2 separate regions of the Homo sapiens genome follow, and region 1 is linked to region 2. Evidence: promoter capture Hi-C in 16 types of primary human blood cells and fetal thymus (Javierre and others, 2016). All regions are on one chromosome and are shown on one strand. Each heading gives the region's core, a stretch centred on a gene start or on the middle of the fragment in contact. The rest is flanking DNA. Distances are from core to core; before and after follow the strand shown. Region 1 overlaps TPR (translocated promoter region, nuclear basket protein). Region 2 holds the start of TOR1AIP1 (torsin 1A interacting protein 1).

Evidence for each region. The method cuts DNA at HindIII sites, captures the fragments that hold promoters and counts their contacts. A CHiCAGO score of 5 or more calls a contact.
Region 1: a contact is called between a fragment that was not itself captured here and the fragment with the promoter of TOR1AIP1 in region 2, in 1 of 17 cell types (naive CD8 T cells). The highest score is 6.0, in naive CD8 T cells.

What each region holds. Positions count from the first base shown.
Region 1 is chr1:186,342,528-186,345,683 of GRCh38, reverse strand. It overlaps TPR (translocated promoter region, nuclear basket protein), which reads left to right. Exons shown (of 51, transcript NM_003292.3): 24 at 1-104; 25 at 1,106-1,309; 26 at 1,594-1,778; 27 at 2,211-2,358. Among named protein-coding and RNA genes, the nearest start is that of TPR, 31 kb to the left of the region's middle. RefSeq lists an enhancer at 969-2,168. The HindIII fragment of the contact is 1,456 bases long and covers 919-2,374 here.
Region 2 is chr1:179,881,015-179,884,048 of GRCh38, reverse strand. TOR1AIP1 (torsin 1A interacting protein 1) reads right to left here and starts at 1,764. Exons shown (of 10, transcript NM_015602.4): 1 at 1,072-1,764. The coding sequence starts at 1,546. It overlaps LOC139427322, which reads right to left and starts at 1,733. Exons shown (of 1, transcript NM_001436163.1): 1 at 1,656-1,733. The coding sequence starts at 1,733. The coding sequence ends at 1,656. RefSeq lists enhancers at 798-897, 1,201-1,495, 1,058-1,817, 1,322-1,859, 1,838-1,947 and 1 more. The HindIII fragment of the contact is 5,266 bases long and covers 1-2,677 here.

The DNA.
Region 1 (3,156 bases), core at 397-2,896, 6.5 Mb before region 2:
AGAAAACACTTTCTAGTGTTCAGAATGAAGTACAAGAAGCTCTTCAGAGAGCAAGCACAGCTTTAAGTAATGAGCAGCAAGCCAGACGTGACTGTCAGGAACAAGTAAGTATAGCCAATTATTGAGAAATGAGCTTCGATCCTAGAGAATGATTCTTGAAGTATATTTATGCATTATAAGAACTGGTGGACCTTACAAAAATTCAAGATAATTTCCACTTTTGTGGAACTTAGACAAGACAAATTGAAAAGTATAGATGGAAGGCTAAAAATAAATACATAGGGCAATATTCATTAACAAAGCAATCTTGACAATGGGAAAATAAAAACAGGACTAGGAGACTAAAATTTGTACTTGGCTCTCATTTGCAAAAATTATTTTACTATTGTCCTTCACTAGATCTGATTATAAAATTACAGATACAGTTGATTAGAGGCAACCTTTGCTAACAAAACAAGAACCTCTTGATAACATTGTTAATGCATTACCAAGTTTGCGCAGATATCTATATACTATTTATAAAATGTTAAAAAAGTATCATTATTTTGAGTGTATGTATGTATGTGCACACAGTATTGAAGCTTTTTATAATTTTTTTATGAACAGGAAATGATAAAACAATTCAGGATTCAGAGTTACTAAAATGGTAGGATGGGATAGCAGTACATTTGAGCATATTGGTAATGTTCTTATTTTAAGTTGGGTGTCATGTTAATAGCTATTCATTTGCTTACTATTCTTTATTGCCTATATATATGTGACGTGTATATTGCTATTTTAAAATGTAATACAGGGAAGAAATGCTTCAAAGTAAATTTCATTAAAATCAATGGATCTATAATTTAGTACTTAATATAGCTGAGTTATGTTTAGCTTCTTATATCAAAAAGTTTGTCCAAATTGCTGGTCTTCTAAGCTTCATTTCTGACAGTTTTATAATATTAAGTAACTAAAGCATTAACTTTTAATTATTTTCTTATTTTGCTACATTTAGATTGTCTTTACTTTTATTATTTAAAAAGTCCAATGTGTATCTTTGGACAAGTGCTAACTAGTTTTATGGATTTTTAATCTTTGGTATCAATTGGGTAATAATTTCTTATAGGCTAAAATAGCTGTGGAAGCTCAGAATAAGTATGAGAGAGAATTGATGCTGCATGCTGCTGATGTTGAAGCTCTACAAGCTGCGAAGGAGCAGGTTTCAAAAATGGCATCAGTCCGTCAGCATTTGGAAGAAACAACACAGAAAGCAGAATCACAGTTGTTGGAGTGTAAAGCATCTTGGGAGGAAAGAGAGAGAATGTTAAAGGTATTATTGTAAATCTGAATAGAATGTTCTGTTGAATTGAAAGAGTTGTTTTTTTCTTTATTTTATAATGTTTTGAGATGGAGCCTCGCTCTGTCACCCATGCTGGAGTGCAATGGCGTGATATTGGGGTCACTGCAATCTCCACCTGCTGGGTTCAAGCAATTCTCCTGCCTCAGCCTCCCAAGTAGTCGGGATTACAGGCGTTAGCCACCGCGCCTGGCCAAGTTGTTTTTTTTAAATATGCATTGGAAAATCTGTTATTCTGATAGACTCTTGGCTTGCAGGATGAAGTTTCCAAATGTGTATGTCGCTGTGAAGATCTGGAGAAACAAAACAGATTACTTCATGATCAGATCGAAAAATTAAGTGACAAGGTCGTTGCCTCTGTGAAGGAAGGTGTACAAGGTCCACTGAATGTATCTCTCAGTGAAGAAGGAAAATCTCAAGAACAAATTTTGGAAATTCTCAGGTAAATCATGTTCTTACTGCTTCATTTCTGTGGTATAACAACTATGAAATGAAACTACAAATATATAAATTAGAGAAGGAGATTATACACGATTTTGATATAAAGTTCATTCTTTTATTTGTCAAAGAACTCATAACTTTTAACATTTACACATATTAAACAAGTGACTTTAAAGTTGAATCTGATAGTAAGAACTAGAGCAGTTTTCTCTTGAAAAACTAAATGCCTTTCAGATCATTTTAGAGATAAACATTCTAAAGCCAGTGTCTATAAAAGAAAATAGAAATACATCTCCCATTATTATTTATTATTAATGAAAACGTGTAATAGTTATTAAAGTCAATGATTTTTGTCATCTTACCAAATTACCTACGTTTTGTAATGTTGGCTTTTTAAAATTCACATAAAATTTTAATATCTGTATTTTTGTAGATTTATACGACGAGAAAAAGAAATTGCTGAAACTAGGTTTGAGGTGGCTCAGGTTGAGAGTCTGCGTTATCGACAAAGGGTTGAACTTTTAGAAAGAGAGCTGCAGGAACTGCAAGATAGTCTAAATGCTGAAAGGGAGAAAGTCCAGGTAGGTATACTAAGCTTTAAGAAAGCACTTGTTAAATCAAAAGAGAAGCACTCATTTATATCTCTACCATTTAACGTAATGTAAAATTTAACTTGAAGTAAGCATTCTTCTAAACTTGTAAATTCATTAAGCATTTGTTAAACACTAATATAGTATAGTGCTTAAAAGTAAAGGCTCTGTAACCAAACTGCCTGGTTTCAGATTCTAGCTTCATACCATTAGCTGTGGCCTTGGGTACATTGTTTAACTTCCCTGCTCTTAGTTTCTTCATCTGTAATATTTGGATAATAATGAGGTTTAATTGAGTTTGTGCACATGAAGCATTTAGAAGCATGTCTGGTATGTAGTGGGTGCTTAATAAATTCCAGCTATCTTAATTTATTATAGTTATGGATTATACGTGTGGATAGTCATTCTAGGATAAAGTGATTTAAACTGCTACAGAATATCTTTCTCACCCAAGGAGCAAAAAGTAGTAAAAACTAACAACCAAAGGAAAAGAAGCTGTGGTAGTGAAATGGATGATAATAAGACAAGCTTGACTCCTTACCCCACACTACCACCCAAAGCTTATTGTTGAGTTACTTCATTCTTAGGAGCTACAGTAATATACCCCCACCTCTAGAAGGAAGGAAATTAAGATCTTAAAACATTTATCTTCTTTTAACTGATGAGTAGTCAAAATGACTGTTAAGAAGAAACCATTGGACAGGGAAAAGTAAATAATGAATTTTATGGGATTTATGTGTTCAGCAAAAGCTAAAGGTTCCAGAATTATATCCTGTTTAATTCAAATGT
Region 2 (3,034 bases), core at 515-3,014:
GTCTTCAAATCTGTCAGTACCTTCACGAGTCAGCAGGTAAACTTGCAGCCTATCACCGTGCTCTAAGCTGAAAACCCACTCCTCCGCCTATCAATAGTCTACCACAAACTATGTCATCCCATTGTGACTCAGGTCCGCTGATTTTTACCTCACAGGTGCCTTACATGGGATTAACATGAAACTTCATCTGTGACTCAGTGTTAGGTCCTAAAATGGGGGGGGCAGGGTGGGAGAGGATAGATTAAGGAAACTGATTCACCTATGACTTACCTAACACTATACACTCACTTTGTCAGCATCCCTTTTGTCCATTTAGACGAAAACTCTAATTAATAGTCTTGTTTTTCAGGTTACTTTGTCAGTCTGATTTGCCAGACTACTTGAGGTTACAGTGACGGCCACCAAAGTGGCAGATTTTTGGCAGGGACCACCACACTGGAGAAACAGCAATCAGCTCAAGTTATCAAACACTGGGGAACATCAGTTCAGGAAAAATGAGTTACCCCATTTCGGTGAAAGTATTGGGTGAGGTCTCAAATCAATTCACTAAACTCAGCAATCCCTCGAAATGCCCACTCACAAAATTTCTCCTTCCTCTCTGCCCACCTGGGTGAGGAGGGAAAAAGACTGAAAGGTTAGATCCTCAGCTGGGGACTCTGGCCCGCGAGCGTTAAAGAAGGAAATGGAAGTGGTTTCTGTAGAAACATCCGCAGGGTAGAGGGAACCGAAATGAAACCGACCCTGCAGTAATTCGCTGTCCCCTCGTGAAGGCCTGCAGAAAAAGGCAGCTCTGACTCCCCTAAATTGATGCCCGATGTTGGGCAGAGCGCCCCAGCCCTGCCCGGGTCGCTCCACACGACCATCTTTCCACTCCTCCGGTCGGCGCTTCCTTCCCCGCTGCGGGTCAGGGTGGCCCTTGCACGGCGGCACAAGTCCAGAGGGGGCTGAGGAATACCCTTTAGCCAATCCCAGTACTTAGTACCCAGGCGGGCATGAGCTCCACCGAGGCGCGCGCCCGCCCCCGCGCGTTCCCTGGCTCGCGGCTGGGACTGTTACCTCCGCGGTCCTCACCTTCAGAGGAATGAGAGTCCCGCAGCCCTCTCCTGGTCATAACAGGAGACGGCTGTAGCGGAGGCTGCTCTGAGTGCTGCTGCTGAAGGCGGGTAGTCCTTCGCGTCTTCATTTCCTCGGTTTCCTGGGGTCGCGGCTGCCTCCGCTGCCTAGACCGAAGGTAGTACGCGCTTTCTCTCACTTCCTCTTTCGCAGAATCGGACCGGAACTCTTCTAGCCGGGTTCGTTTTCCCACCGGGGACCTTTCTTTGGCCACCAGGGGCTCGAAGTCGCCGTACACTTCTGGCGGCTCGTCCGAGAACCTCACTTCCCGCCGGCCCTGGCGCGACGGAGGAGTTCTGTACGCAGGCGCATCGCTGCTGCCGCCATTTTGAGGGGCGAGCCGGCCCCTTCCCTCTCGGATGGGGGCCCTGGGGGTGACGTACACACCCCATCCTTCCCGCACCGCCTCTGCCCGCCGCCCGTCGCCCGCCATAGTTGTTGACGTAGCTTTAGTCGATCGCGAAGATGGCTTTATGGACCCTAGGTTCTCCTGCCGGTGGTGGCGATGGCTTCTCGGGGGTGTTGGGCGGTGGCCGCTGTGGTCAGGGAGGCAGTTGCGAGTCGCTGGGGCCGCCGCCTGCGTCGTCGCTGCTGTGTAGCAAACCTGCCTCTGGGCCCATGGTGTGTCTTGAGGGCTGTGAGAGAGGCAGTGCCTGAGCTGGGTCAGCTGCTGTGGATCGCTCCCGCCTCCTGGCTGGAGGCACCAAAGAGGAGGAGAAGGGGGAGGAGGACGTCTCTGCCATCGCCCTTAAGTAAAGGAGGGGTGGGGGCGATAGAAGGATGGCAGGGCAACTTGCCTGTCCTAAGTCTAGCCGCTCGTGGCAAGTGTTGACTGCGTGTAGGAGACTCCCGTCCTATCTCCCAGTACCAAGTCTCGGGGAAAAGGAGTGCGACGAGGGTGGAGAAGACCCAAGTTTCGCTTCTCGGCCCCAGGCTGTTGCGCAGTTTCCCTGGAATCTTTTTGATCGACTGCTACGTTGACCATGTCCTTCCCAGTGTCCTTAGCAGGAGTGATGGCCAGAGAGAGAACTTTTGCACATGCCATGTTTTCGTGGCAAAAATTTTAGTTTCAAGTACCTTATGAGGGCGGTTACCTAGTTTTGAATTTTGTCACTTGTTGAGGGTGTACAAAATCCTATCTAGAGTCATACTCGTTGGATGTATTTTCTTTTCCGAAATGTACCCATAGGACACATAACCTTATTCCTGGTCTTTAATATTTCTCGGTTTTATACCAAGCAGCAGTGTTCGGAAGACCATGTTAGTGCTACATTGTGCACAGTGAGAAATGAACAAGTTTTTTAATTAAAGACAGCACTGTAATTTTAAGTTGTGATCCATTATTTTTACTTTTATTCTGGATGTGACGTGATACTCTACATTTGATTTAGAATGCTTTATGGACTTTATGGAATAAGAAAGCATGGTAAAATCTATTTGTTTCACCTCCTTATACAAATGTTTACAGATGTGGCTAATCTGCAAATACCTAACCAAATTTAGACACATTCAGAGAAGGTCGATTAAGTTCGTGTAAAGTCTGAATAATTATTGAAAGAAAGCTTAAATTGCCTTCAAATATACAACTGCTTGTAGGGCTTTGTATGATTGGAGTGAATAGATTTAAAAAATTGTAATTTGGATACCAGTTACAATGAGCGATTCTGAAAAGTTTGAAGGTGTTTGTTTATTCTTCCAAGTAATCACCTTAAAATGTTTTTGAGCAACTCATTTGTTGCTCAAACTTGGCACAAATTTCAACTACTTAAGTCGTAATGTGTACTATGTTTTTATTTTATTTTTATTTTTATTTTATTTTTTTTGAGACGGAGTCTTGCTCTGTCACCCAGGCTGGAGTCCAGTGGCGCGATCTCGGCTCACTGCAACCTCTGCCTCCCGGATTCACGCCATTCTCCTGCTT